2 separate regions of the Homo sapiens genome follow, and region 1 is linked to region 2. The links are contacts of gene promoters, found by promoter capture Hi-C in human tissues and cell types (Jung and others, 2019). All regions are on one chromosome and are shown on one strand. The core of a region is centred on a gene start or on the middle of the fragment in contact, and the rest is flanking DNA. Distances in the headings are between cores, read along the strand shown. Region 1 overlaps LINC01470 (long intergenic non-protein coding RNA 1470). Region 2 holds the start of GRIA1 (glutamate ionotropic receptor AMPA type subunit 1).

Region 1 (7,162 bases), core at 434-2,933, 680 kb after region 2:
TTTGAAGAGGAATTCACCATCTCTGGTAATCAACAAAATCATACTTTTATAAAATCCAAATATAAAAAGTAATACAAAAAGATTCATTTATAATACAATTATATTATTTGTTACCTTGATACAGTATTCTACAACACATGTACTTTTTCTTTATCTTTTTTTTTTTTTTTTTTTGAGAGAGATGGGCTCTCACTTTATTGACCAGACTGATCTCAAACTCCTGGGCTCAAGCAATCCTCCTGCCTCGGCCTCCCAAAGTGCTGAGATTACAGGCATGAGCCACCCTGCCCAGCCACATCTACTTATAATGAACAACATGTTTAGATTTGAGAGAAATATGACAATAAGACAATATATATCTGAATATAATCAATACTTTTTATTATAATTGCTGTTTCAAAATTGAGGCTTAACATACACATTTAAATTCATAATGACTGTCAAAGCTACAAGTACCTACTGATATTGGTGTATCATTAGCAAGACAAACAGAACGTCAATACTGATGACTGAATGCTTTATTGAAATAGTGAATAAGTCTTGATAAAGTTATGAAAAAAAATATGATCTTCCCTTGATTTACCTTACAGTTACATTCCTAGAAAATTTCGCATAACACCATGCAAAAATGCCATTTGTTTATGTGTAAAATTTACTTAGGTTCTAGGCTCAGATTATCATAAACTGTATTTTCCACCTCCCGAGGGCCTGGCAAGGTATTCAGAAAGTTTGGGGGATATAGGACAATTTTTCTTAGTATAGGTCTGATGAATTGCAAGATTTCTAACATCTCTGATCTCACTCAGTAAAAGCTTGTAGCATCAAACAGTTGTAATACCAAAAAGTTCCCCCTTGGGATGAAGCTATCCTTGTTGAGAATCACTGACTAAATTAAACAAATTTATATACTGATGGCCTGCCAGGTTCTAATCCTGTTTTTAAAAGAAAATGAAGCCCTTATTTCTGAGAGGATGAGTTAACAATGTTGACAGTGATGCCAGAGCATTTGGGAAACACTCAGGAGTGTAGATGGGTTGCAGAATGAACCTTAGTGTGACCCTTTGACAAACTTCCCATCCTGGCCTCCTTCCACTGTTCAGCAGAATCTGTGTGGGGTATACATGGCAGATTCAGAACTCAGCTCCTTGGGATTAGTCCATTTGAAGAAGTGTCCTTCTCTACTGGAAAGTCTTCTGAAAATTAAAATGCAAGGTACTTATACTAACAGGCCGGGCGCGGTGGCTCATGCCTTTAATCCCAGTACTTTCGGAGGCCGAGGCGGGCAGATCACGGGGTGGCAGATCACGAGGTCAGGAGATAGAGACCATCCTGGCTAACACGGTGAAACCCCATCTCTACTAAAAATACAAAAAATTAGCCGGGTGCGGAGGCAGGCGCCTGTAGTCCCAGCTGCGCGGGAGGCTGAGGCAGGAGAATGGCATGAACCCGGGAAGCGGAGCTTGCAGTGAGCCGAGATAGCGCCACTGCATTCCGGCCTGGGCGAAAGAGCGAGACTCCGTCTCAAAAAAAAAAAAAAAAAAAAGCATACTAACATCACACAAACATTAGAAATACATAGTAGACTAAGAGACACATACATAAGTGTATCTGAAAATGAAATATTTTTGTTAAGCTTCGTAAAATATTTCCCAAGCTTGAATAGATATGCAGGAGGGAGAAAAGGAAGTTGCAGAAAATTTAAATCCACAAAATCATTCAGCCTACAATTTCGAATCTATTTCAATTAACGAACAAATATTTATTAAATTCTATGTGTGTTTCTCTATACTACTCATTCTTTTTATTTTAATCTTTTTTTTTCCTTTCCTAAATCATAAACTCTTCTGTGAAGAAACCAAACTTCTTCTGTAGCTTATATTGTACCTAGCATGACTCTTGACACAGAGTAGAGATAACATTATTTGCTTAGCCCAGTAGTTCTCAGAATACATCAGAATCACTGGAAGACAGAGTTTGATTCAGTAAATATAGTGGGGCCTGGAAATTTGCATTTCTGAGAAGTTCCCAGGTTATGCTGCTGATGATGATTCAGGGGCTACGTTTTGAGAATCAATGACTTAAAGCATAACATTGTGGTAAAGAACTCAGGCTCTAAAACAAAATGGGCATAGGGTTGAATTCCAGCTGCACTGCATATTAACTCTGTCCCCTTGGGCCATTTACCTAATTTCAAAGCCTCAGTAACTCCTCATTTAATTAATGGGAATGATAATATTTATTTCATCAGTTTTGTGAGCACTATGTAAGTAACACACATTACGTACTCAGCAGACATCAGTTATTTTTATGGAGCTTTCTCTACCAAGAAAGGGCTTTGGGTTACTTAGAGAAGGTATTATTGCACGGTGTATATGATGAATAAGTATTATAATGGAGGAATTCTAGGAAACACTTCAACTTTGGGTTTAATGATTTTCCCATGGGTCTACCTGAATTAGGGAGGTCATTCAGAGGATTGTAATGTGTGGTGGGTTGTGGGGGAGAAAGTCAAGTACCCATTTAGTTGGTAATTAAAATATTGCTGAAGGACTGGCTGTATTTATATGAAAACAGCTCAATTTGCCTACAGCATAAAGTCGCTGTCTGGGAAGAAATGTAATATTCAAACAGCCTGTAATCAAAAGAGCTACTCCACACCTGGGAAAAGCATCTTGGTAATTTTGTGAGTAGGACAAAAGCAGAAATCAACAAATGCTTTTCTTTACAGCAGCAACAATAATGGTAATTTTAAGCAGCTACTTGTTTTTTTCATTTTTTCTTCATTGTGATGATTCCTTTGTTTGTCACTGAGCATAGGAAGTTGCAAGGTTTAAGAGTATAGCTTGTGTCCTCATGAGATAAAGGAATCAGGCCCTTTCAGAGAATGGCTTGTATGCTCTGAATATGATACTCACAGTAAATTACCAGTTAGCCCTGGAATGAGCCATCTGGATTACAGTCTCATGTGGCTGGGGAAGAATTTAGGGTGGTCCAGTCTCCCCTGCCCTCTTCCGCTGTTTGAATGCCTTCTAATGATTTCCTGCCAAGCTGTCCAATGTATTCTTCAATGCTGTTAGTGTCATGTGACTCATCTCCAAAAGAAGTTTAATCTGACCTTGACTAGATTTTACTGTAAGAAATTTCTTTCTATTGAGCTGAAAACTGAATGATCTTTTCAGATATGTAAAAGCAGCTACTGGGGCCTACCTGAGTCTTTTCTTCTCTTGACAAATGTTTTCATGACATTGAAGACAATTACTTTAGCAGTTTAGATATAGGGTAACTTTGGGTTTTAGTCCTAGAATATATCATTTACATTTTTTTTTTTAGTTGACATCCAGAGAAGTTAAGAGCTCAGGCAAACATCACCTAGATATGACTAATATTTACCTCCCTCTTATTGTCTTCATTTTTTCTCTGTCCTTTCCATTTAGGTTTCCTGTAGGCTCTGGAATGAAGGCTGTAGCATTCTTGGAGGCATCCGTATTGGATAGACTTATTCACCTATTCATTTATCAAAGAAATATTTATTCCTGAACATATTCTGTGTACATAGATTATGTTAAGGGCTCTGGGTCTATAAAGATAATAACAAAACCCAGGAGGCAATTAGCTTTTATTTGTATATTAACTTGACATCACTAAAAGTGTCTCTCTTGAGCTTCTTCATTGTTCAGTGGGAATAACTGATTATTAACAGCTGTCATGAGTATTGTAGAAAAGGGCTTCCATCCTCATTTTGGTGTTCAGTGTATGTGTGTGTGGACCCTATTCTAGGCCCTTGAGGAGTCCATAAATATGTTACAGGTAGTTAGATAGGTGTGAGCGGGGCAGGAGAGGGCTCTCCCCCAACCCACTGGGAATATCAGGTGATGGTTCAATAACTATCACACTACATCTCTAAAGCCAGGGAGAGGACATTTCCTGATTATCCATAGCTATTAACGTTAAAGTGTGAATTGAATATGGATGCCAGGGAGAAAAACTTCCTGGGTATGTGCCTTAACAGACAAGATGATGAAGCACAACCTTCCTAGTACACTCCACAGGAAAAAGGAAGAAAGCCTCAGATGGGCATGTGTACACCTTCCTAAACACACTGCCCCTGCTCAATTCTTAAGGGTAAGGAGGGTACTGAGCATTTGGGAAGCCCATCCTAAGGGAAGAATCATGGAAAAGAGGTGAGCCTAGAAAGCCCTAGGATCAAGGTTAAATGCCCCTTTTTCTCTCTTTGACCTTCAGGAGCCCTCTTGGATCTCTGCCAAGTGAACCTTTTCTTTCATGTTCTGAAGCCTTTTTAAATAAACTTCCACTCCTGCTCTGAAACTTGCCTCAGTCTCTTTTTCTGCTTTATGCCCCTCAGTCAAATTCTTTTTTCTGAGGAAGTAGGGACTAAAATTGCTGCAGAGGCCTACAGATATGCCACTGGTAACTTGGGGTAACTCGGATCTCTTCCACCAGTAACGAATACATACCAAATAATACTAGACATGGGAAGTGCTGCTGGAGGAGAGAAGGAGGAGGTCACCATGGGCTGAGAATACTTTATGAAAGAAATGTGCCTTGAATTTGCATGGGTAGATGCAAAAAAGGATGACATTTCACACAAAAAGAGGAGCAGAAACAAAGGTATAGAGAAAGGAAAACCTGTGTTCGATTTGGGGCAAGGAATAAATTAATAGATGATTTTTCTAGAAGAAATGGTCAAGGAGAGGCTTAATAAATAGGAATGATATCAAACTAGAGTCAGGATGTCCAGAGAAGCTTTTGTGTAGTTGTAGTAACTGTAAAGACTAGCAATAAGATACAACAGGTTCTTCTCATTTTGCCACTAACTTTTGGCAAGAGAGACAGAGGCCATGTTTATATCAGATGTGGCTAAATTCCAAGCCAATATATGCAAGTTCACATTGTAAGTATAGAAAGTAGTTTATTCTACACAAAATAACATGAATCTAATGCCATGGCTATTTTCAGAGCATCACTCTAAGAGTGTCTGCTAAAATAATAGTGCACATAAATGAAAATATGCTGGAATGTTAAAAAGTCTGTCGTATAATGTTGAGCTTTTACTGCAAGACAGCAAGTTTGAAGTGTCCCTGGAGCATGTATTCTCAATTGGGGCAATATTGACACCAAGGAGGCAAAAATTAATTCTTGGTGGTGAGAAGGGGATCCTACTCTTTATGTGTAAAGTACAGCTGTACATACTATATATAAATAGATACACAATATATCTATGATCTTAACATTTCATAGGGAAACAATTAGGGGGAAAAAGTCCAAAGGGTTCCTTGGGAGGGGATAATAACGAAGAAAAGATTGAAAAGCAAGGCCCTAGAGAAAAGCCAGGTAGTCTAATCCATATTAGGCATGTGTCAACACTGGGTGCATTCTTGGAGCTCCCAAGAATAAGCCAACCTGGATGTTTACTGTGGCTGCTCTTTGTTGTGGGGGCACCATTTTCCTGTTTTTATAGCTGACTTCTTCTGGTTGACATACTACTTTTTTAGGTTTGTTGACTCTAGTGTCATACCTGGTTTGTTGATAAGAAGTCAAGATGACTTTACATCCTTTTGCTCTAATCCATTTTTTATTGTTTAGCTTTCAGCAGACGGTGTTGTTTACATCTGGGTTGTAAGACCTCTTCACGGTATTCCTCTAGGAATCTCACTACAATGACATAACTTCAGAGCCTTCTTGGGAAACACGGTTGGAGGACCATAATGTTCTCAGTGTGTGGATTGTGTACCACAAACAGATTATAGGCCTCCACTCATAACCACTGAGTAATTTGTGATGGCAGGCCTGGGGAATCTGTACTTTTAATAAGCACTTTAAGTGATTCTCACTGCTGCTCAATTCTGTTTTGAAAGGAATGCTCTGAGGCAGCTCTTGAAGCAAGATTTTCCTATTGCAGGAAGAATGATGGGACCTTCCTTCTTAGGTCATGATTGAACCAGTGGATCCTAGTCTCTATAGAAACTGTATTTTTGTATTTAATGTGAATCCTTCAGTATGTCAATATTTATCCTCAAGAATTACTAGCAAAGTTGTAGGGCGAAAGGTTTGTTGTCATAAAATCTATCACCACATTTCATTCCAAAATATGTAAATGTCTCTAAGCAAATGTATCCTTCAGCTAGATGGAGAAGTCCTTTTAACACTATATCTTTGAAAAATTATGTTGGACTGATAGAAAAACTTCTGGGCCAGGTGTCTGAAATTTAAACACCAGCTCTGTAACTAGCCTGATTCTGCCCTTAAGCAACTAGTTGAGCAGATTTGGGCTATAGTCACCAAATTGGTTAAAGCAGGATAAAAACTTCCCTAATTATTTGGCAGAATATTTGGATATTCAAAGTAAGGAACTGTTGCTAAGGCATCACGAAAAAGTAAAAGGAATTTACAAGAATATAAGATATTATTATTATTAAAAACTGACTCCCAGATGTAACCATGCTTGTGATAGGTAAAATAATTTTTCCCATGTTGTTCTAAGCTAATGGTGATGGGTTTGAAAAATTTTGAGTTGAAGAGGATTTAAAGAAGAAGAGATTAGACATTGTAAGTCATCACTGAAAGTGAATGTATGTGCATGAATGTGAAATGACACTCCTAGAATTTCCCAGGAACCAACAGTGACATTTAAGCAACAGAAAATATCAGTAGAAAGAATCATCCCACAGAACACAAATTTATGTCAAGAAGGAAATAGAAGTACGTTGCTCCTTCTCAAAAGGAAAGACTTTACAAAAACATTAATAACATGTCTATCATGCAGCCTTCTTTACCAAAGGGGGAAAATTATTTCCTTATAGATCTTCTTTTGAAGTAACAAAAATGGGTGCCAGCAGTTTCAAGCAATATGTTTTTCTAACTTACCAATCCTATTAAAATTAGAAAACCTACTTGTTGATATATCCAGCAAAAGTTCTTGGTAGGGGTCTTATGGCTGCCACTGGGTCATGCTCCCATCTCCAAGGCAGTTGTCATGGCTGGAGAATGTGGTGCTCCAATCAGGTAGGCAAGATCATTGTTAATCATGGTCTTGGGAGTGGGGTTAATTCCACCTGTACTATATGATCTGCAAGTGCTGGAGAGTGACTACTAAAAGGAAAAGTGGGGGTTTGCTAACAGAAGAAAGGGGAATGTTTAATGA
Region 2 (7,544 bases), core at 212-2,711:
TCCCAGCAATGCGAACTTTCCCTAGTGGAGCTATCTCCCTACCAGGGGAGAGAGACTAGAAACCAAACCAACGAAGATGCTTCCAAACACAGCAGCTTGCTTCATTCCGGGACACAAACGACACTGACATGCTGGTCACACGGAAGCCCCAAGCCCTTGTGGACATGCTTTGTGATTGGTGTTATTGCTTCTGTTTGTTTTGCTTTCCCTCATGATTATCAGGAGTAGCAATATCTGTCAGTCCCCTCAGAAATACAGGGAGGGTGGCGGGGCCTTTGAGAAGTGTAACAACTAAGAAGGGGAAATGGGGAACAAAAAAAGCATGCAGCATGTTGAAACCTGCCTCCAAGTTGAGAGGATGGAGCCCAGTAACAAGGATAATGGAGAGCCAACAGGAGGAGAAAGGAGCATGTGTACGTGTGTGTGTTTGTGTGTGTAAAAGGTAGACCTCTGTGGATAGGAAATCTAAGAGGAGGGGGCAAGGAAGGAACGGAGAAAAGGCAGGCGAGGAAGTTCCAGGATCGGGGGAGTGGAGACCACCAGCGCAGCATGGCAGACAGCAAAGAGAAGGCAGCTGGAGGAGTCCAGAACAGGAGAGGGAGCCTACCCGCCTTGGAGTGGGGGCCTTCTGGCATTATTTCAGTGGCTGCAATATACCCAGCACCCCTCACTCCTTCTTCTCGAGGGTCTCTTTTCTGTCCCCCAGCAGAGAAAGCACTGCCTCCTTCAATTACATATATATGTGCATATGTAATATATAATCACACACGTGAAAACACACACACCATACATACTTACATTAAAAATGGAATCAAGCACCATCTACCAAGCAATAGAGTTAACTCCTTAAACACCCACCACCCTTTCCAGCCTGATTTTTTTTTTCCTCCAAAGCGATGGTTCCTCCATTTCACATGCTCTTGCCTGGAGTGCGAGTAGGGTATGTGTGCGTGTGTGAACACTTCCCCTCTGCCCCTCATCCGATCAGGAGAAGCCCCCTCCTCTGGCTGTAAGCCCAAGTCTCCCTTCTGTTACCGCAGCACAGCTTTAGGGAGCCAAGCAAAACAGTCAGTACCGGGGAGGGGGTACACAACCCCTATCCCCAAAAAAATCCCTGGCCAGACCCAGAAAGTCCCTCCCCAGGCTGCCCCCTCACTCACCGATCTGGATATTGTTGGGGAAATTGGCACCTACTACCGCGCCTAGGAAACCGGTGCAGAAGAAGGCAAAAATGTGCTGCATATTCCTTTTTGCATTGGCGAAAAAGAAGCCCAGGTCCAATCATAGATTTGGTGTTTCCCCCCCTTTCCCTTTATTCTTCTCGCTGTTCTGCCTGTTCTTTTCCTCCTGCAGTTCCTTCCTTGCTTGCTTGCTTCCTTCCTTTCGTGAGGTTTGTCTGTTTCCCTTGGAATCCGAACACTTAAACTGCAGCGTTAACACCAACTGACAGCCAGATTAACTGAGCACGGGAAAAGAAGCCCGTCCTCATGCTAGCTGGAGCGCTGGCTCCCCCACTCCCTCTCCTCTCCCCTCGCAGCCTGCCTCTCTCTCCCTCCCTTGCTCTCTCTCGCTCTCCCCCTCACACTCACACAGGCAGCAAGCTCTATGCTAATACCCACCGAGCTAGCTTGGAGTTCCACAGCCGACCTCCCTACCTGTTCCCCCTTCCTCCCATCCTCACCTTATCCTCCTTTCTGTGTGTGCAGAAAGGTGGAGGTGGGGGTGTGTGACACGTGGCACTTGGTCCTGAAAGGGGCAACCCCACAGTCCTCTTTACCCTCCCCTGCCTTTCTGAGCTCGGTCTGCCCGCTCCCCCAGCCCCCAGGCTGAAGCTGCTGGGAATGTGGGTTCAGCTGTAAGTCAGTAGGTGGCAGGGGGTCCCCACAATAGTCCTCAATCCACCAGCTGCTTGATCTAGGTCACTTTTTCTAGGAGTGCATGGGCTGCGCTGGATATATCTCCTGCACTCCACTGGCCCAATTATTCCTACAACTAATTCCTGAGGGAAAGACCCTAGAAATCCCTCCTAGGAAATTTAAAGGAAAAAAAAAAAAAAGCTTTCTCTCTCCTAATGGAAGGAATGACAGATAGACAAACAAGGGAGGATCTGGAGTGACTGGCAGGTATTTTGACCAGGTATTTGACAGTCCCTGTCTACCTTTACAAGTGAAACGGTGGTCTCTTTTCAATCCTAGGCATTTAAAATGGGCCCCCTTCTCTCTTTCCCTGCATTCCACAGGAGTCTATAGCATCAGAATCGTGTGGGTGTACAATAAAGACTAAGGATACTTACACAGAGCAATTACATGAGTCATTTTGCAGGGATTCTAGTGAGAGGATTCAAGCTTCTTTCAGGTCTTTCTGGATGCTGGTCATGTCTGGTGTAAGCTGGAACTTCATAGACTCTCCTAGACCAGGGCTTCTGCTGAAATAACCTGTAGAGAGATCAGCTGTGTTCAGGATAGTAGTGTTAAATGCAAAGCAGCAGCCACTAGCCGCCACAGAATACAGTTTTTGAAGGAACTTTACAGATTTTTATCCATCTATCTTCACTCCAAACCTGTAAAGTGGCCATGAGCCCTGTTTTACAGATGAAAAAGATAAGACTTCTGGGATTAAGTCATAAAGACACAGACCTACTAAGATGTACAGTACAACCTACAAACTTGAGTGCTTTGGCCGTTACCAGTTGACTTACTGCCCTGGCCAGGACTCCTGTCCAACAGGAGATGATCCAGGAAAAGGAAAGTCAACTTTGTCTTTAGTAAGAAAGAAATAATAGACTTTGGACTCCATTTTGCTTTGCCATATGAATAGGCCATTTTATCCACAGACTCTTCACTTCCCTCACCAGGACTGTATATCATGTGGACTTGAGTGACAGCTACAAGGACTGGGATTTGTAAAAAATATCTGACCATGTACAATGAAGCCCCAAAATAGGAACAACTTGGAGGTCAAATGCTTTGTGATTTCCTATGCACTTTCACATATATTAATTAATTAGCTAAAATAATTTTTAAGGCTAATGTTTATTCACTATTTTGAATGTGCCAGGTACCATGCTAAGAAATGCACCTGCATCATTTATTTGTACAATACCTGTGTAGGTAGCCTCATGCCCATTTTATAGATGAAGAAACAGAGGTCTAAAAACTCACCCCAAGTTTTCACTGCTAATGAAAGAGATTGGGCATTTAAACACAGTAAATGCCACCATCAGGCCCCAGCTCTTAACTCTTAGGCTCTAATAACAGCAAGCACTGGGTAGGAACCTTCTAAAGGAAGAATAAGCATCAGCATAGGAAGATGAGAGAACAGAATCAGGAAAGATCACTTCTAAGGTCTCTGCCAACATTAAGAGTCTCTGATTTAATGATTCCATCTTTTAATTTCTCCATTTTCAGTTTTTGTATCTTACTACTTTGAATAGTACCTGGGGATCTTTTAGGTTCCCTAAGCTTTGTGCCTGGTAATAATAATAATTAGGCTGTCATTAAAGGCTTCACACCTTGCAATCACCTTTTAGAGGAAGCTCTTTAGACCCTTTACAAGCAAAACCTCAATGTCCCCCTGCATTAGGTAAGATTTGTTTTGCATACTTTGTAGGGAGGGGACTTTTAAGGGAGTCAAAAAGATGAATTTTCCATGGTCATTATAAATCATATAGTCAAGCAGATCTTCCTAAAACAGAGGTCTACGTCATTGCCCTGCTCAAGTATGGTCAATAGCTCCCCTTGGTCTATTAAATACATAGTTGTTCACTGATTAAATATAGAACTTACATATTTCAAGTGTAGGCATCTAGGTCAAACTACATTAGGTTCAATGTTTATTCCATGTTTCTTTATAATTCTCTTCATTTCAAATGTTGGTGGGGAACCTATTCTGTATCTCACAGGGTGCCAGGTGCTGGGCAATATGAAGAGGAATCAGACACAGTCTCTGCCTCAAGGCAGGTGAATGTGGCAGAAGAAGAAGACAGACGAACCCGGACAACTGTCACCCAGAAAGACCATGACAAGTGCTCTAAAAGATGTAAACACAGCAGCGGGGGAGCAAAGAAGGATGCAATCAGTGTGTCTGTCTGTGGGGATCCAGCAAGGCTTCAAAAGAACTGAGCCGTGAAGGATGAGGAGATTATAGGCAGTAACTGAGGACTGGGAAGGACATGCAAACCAAGGAAAGAGCCCCAGCAAAGGCTGGGGGCAGGAAAGAATGCCACGTGCTCTGTTAGCCTGGAGCCGGCAGTGCATAACTGGGAAGAGTGTACTGGGGAACTTGGAACTTAGAGGAAGTCAGTGTCAGGATTTGGAACCCACTGAATTCCTGGTGGACCATGATGAGCCATGGGGGCATTTTTAGTATGCTAGTTACAATAGCGGGCATGTGCATGAGAAAGAAAAGATTGACCACTGGTAGAAGGTGATTTTCTCATTTCCTCATCCTCAAAGGTTAGAACTACCTACCAAACAGCTTCATTTCCCTAAATAACTTATTTGACGTCATCCTTTATTAGCTCATCATGCTGTCTCTCTTTAGAGTCCCCAGTCCTATTTGCCATTCCCAAAGTGGCAAAGTCTTCAAAGTGGCTACATGATTAGCTTAAGACAGTGGTTCTCAACTGACAGCAATTTTCTCCCCCAGGGGATATTTGGCAAAAATGTCCAGAGATGTTTTTTGTTCTCACAATTATGGAATTGTACCCCTGGAATCTCATGGGTGAAGGCCAGGGATGCCACTAAACATCCTACAATTCACAGAGCATCCACCCCACAAAAAAGAATTATCTGGTTCCAAATATAAATAGCATTGAGGCCAAAAAACCTTCCTTAAGGGGACTAGTGATTGGCATGCCAGGGACTGGGCACCAGGACCCTGCAGCGTCCCTCCCATTATATTACACTGAAGAAAAATTAAGTTGATTATCTTTTAAGACTTTTCATATTTTAAAGTGGGATATCTGAAGATGGGTGCTCATTAAAGTCCAGCAGTTAAGTATCTAATGGAGGAACTCCAGGTGGCTGACATCCCATTGGAAAAGCCTCCAAATGCTGCTCAAATTGTGCTCTAGAGACAGCATGGCACCTACTCCTCAAATTAATTATGACCCATCCCAGCTCATATTTTTGGCATACTTTAAGTCCTCTTACCATGTAGCCAAAACAGTCTAAGATTTACTTATTTTGGCTTTGTTTTGACACCGCAAATCAAGGAGAATGGTGTTGGACAGGGATTACAAATGCAAATGCTTCCTTGAGCCAGGCAGGGAAATGAATGAAGTGAGCCAAGTTGGGGAGAATGGGGAAGACAAACGGAACTAGAGAGACTGTGCCCTGTTAAAGGTGGCCACAGGGACTCAATAGGCAGCAGATTATTACCATGAGGAATTGTAGGCCTAGAGTGGCTAGATCCTCAGATTCTTTTCTCAAGGAAAAGTAGAAATATGGAATATATATATATATACACACACATATATGGGATATGGAATATAGTGACTTAGGGAAAAAAGGGGTAGGGTAAGAGTAGTGCCTCTGAGCTTGATCTGACTGACAGGCCACGGAGTGCCAGTGGAATCCTGGAGACAAGAGTCCAACCACTTCTCATGCCCAGTATCAATTTAGGGGCCAAGTCCATTTCCTCTACAAGACTGTTTCCTCATCTATTAAATGACAAGATTAGATGTGGTGATGGCTACAGACCCTTCTGGTTCTGACACTCTGTAACTCCATTTGACAGCAGGGGCTGGGGTAAGGGAGAGAAAGGACAGATGTCAGGTCTGGGGAGGCCCATTCTCTCCTCTACCTCCTATTACCTGTGATAGTGGTATTGGCAAGTTCCTTCCCTTCTTGGACTAGTTTCTCCATCTGCAAAATATGGGTGTTTCACCAAGGTTTCTTCTGGCTTTAACATTTTAGGTTTCTAGTGTAAAGCAATTCAAGGGGGTGGGGGGACCATCAAATTTATGATCTAAGAACAGATTGCTGACAGCTAACCAACTGGCAAAAATGCAATCAGAGAGAGGGTGCCTCTGTGGCTTTAGAAAGGCCTTATTTTTAAAGATGTTTTAAAAAATAATAATGATAATATTTTTTCATGTTTTCTAGCACAATTCATACAGAAGGCTCCAAAATAATCCACAGACTGTGTGTGTGGTGAGAACACACCCCAAAGAATGTAATTACCCACCCTGGAGTTCTGCCAGGTTTAACAGCATTTTCTATCTGCTTTTTTTTCTTCTTCTTCTTTCAGTCTTCCCTCCCCTCCTCACACAAATGACAGCATTTTCATAAGCTCTCAGCATTACTAGGTAATTAGGGAGCCATGCAAGTTCTGGAAAACACCCTGGGGCAGGATCAGTGCCTGAAAAAAAAAAAAAAGTCTATTCCACGATTCCATGGGGAAGCTTCTACGCAGCACCATTGTTACTGGTAGAAATTGGAGGCACTGACTATTCCTTTAAATCAGCAATGCCTTCAGAGAGGCCACCTGGGCCACACTCACATGGGCGGGTGGCCACCATGCAGCATTGGCACCAGCTCTCCTGAGAGGCCCTGCAGCTCATCTGGCCCTAGTCTAGGAGACAATAGAGCCAGACCTTCACCGCCATCCTCCCCAGATGGGTGGTTCTGGATGAGCTATTTAACCCCTTTGTCTCAATGTCTTCATCTGGGAAGTGGGGATAATGAGAGGTTATACTTTGTGGGGCTAGAGAGGGCATTAATGACATGCTCCATGTGAAGGGACTGGTGAATCTCCAAACACACAGAAATGACTCTGCCAGCCATTCCTGTACAGAGGTGTGAAATGTCATTATTTTTGGTTAGAGTCCAGAGTCATCCTGGCATTGGAGGCCTTCCCTGTTGTTCCAATCCACTTCAGAAAGCTTCTCCTATAGCTCAGTGTGCCAGTCTTCTATTAAGCCTATGTCACTTCCCCCACCCTCAAAACATCTGCCCATCAGGAATACACAAACTTCTGCTGCTGGTGCTCCCCAACCTGCTCCTTCCCTCATCCCTCCAATCTCCCTACATGACACCTTCATTCACCTGATTGTCAAGCTAAGCTAAGAACTCCACCTCCAACCCATTAGCAAATTCTATGGGCTGTACTTTAACAATATAGAGCCCAACCACTTTCCACCATCGCTCCACTCCAGGTCATTCATTCTACCCATATCTCTCAATCTTTATCAATTCCTTATTTCTACTCCTTTTGTACACCCTCCCCAGCAACGTAATTTGCTCTCTGTATGGCCACCAGAGTGAAATTTTTAAAAAGAAGTCAGACATTGTCACTCTCCGGCTCCAAAATATCCCAGAACTTCATCCATACTTAAAGTCTGCAATCTGGCAGCTGGCTGCCTCTTTCACTGGTATCCTATACCCTTCCTCATTGGCATCCTCTGCTGCAGTCACACTAGCCTGCCTGCTGTTCATTGGACACACTAATCACCATCTTGTCCCAGGACCACTGCACTTGCTCATCTTTCTGCCTGGAAAGCATCTTCTGTAGAAATCCGCATTGCTTTTGCTCTCACTTCA

What was found. The method cuts DNA at HindIII sites, captures the fragments that hold promoters and counts their contacts. A contact is called where the count stands out against the background at its distance.
Region 1: a fragment that was not itself captured here is called in contact with the fragment with the promoter of GRIA1 in region 2 in 1 of the 25 tissues and cell types used here (dorsolateral prefrontal cortex).

The regions. Positions count from the first base shown.
Region 1 is chr5:152,804,888-152,812,049 of GRCh38, reverse strand. The region is part of intron 3 of LINC01470 (long intergenic non-protein coding RNA 1470); the gene reads left to right. Among named protein-coding and RNA genes, the nearest start is that of LINC01470, 160 kb to the left of the region's middle. RefSeq lists an enhancer at 1-385. The HindIII fragment of the contact is 3,053 bases long and covers 157-3,209 here.
Region 2 is chr5:153,484,587-153,492,130 of GRCh38, reverse strand. It overlaps GRIA1 (glutamate ionotropic receptor AMPA type subunit 1), which reads right to left and starts at 1,461. Exons shown (of 16, transcript NM_000827.4): 1 at 1,161-1,461. The coding sequence starts at 1,242. The HindIII fragment of the contact is 6,455 bases long and covers 1-4,934 here.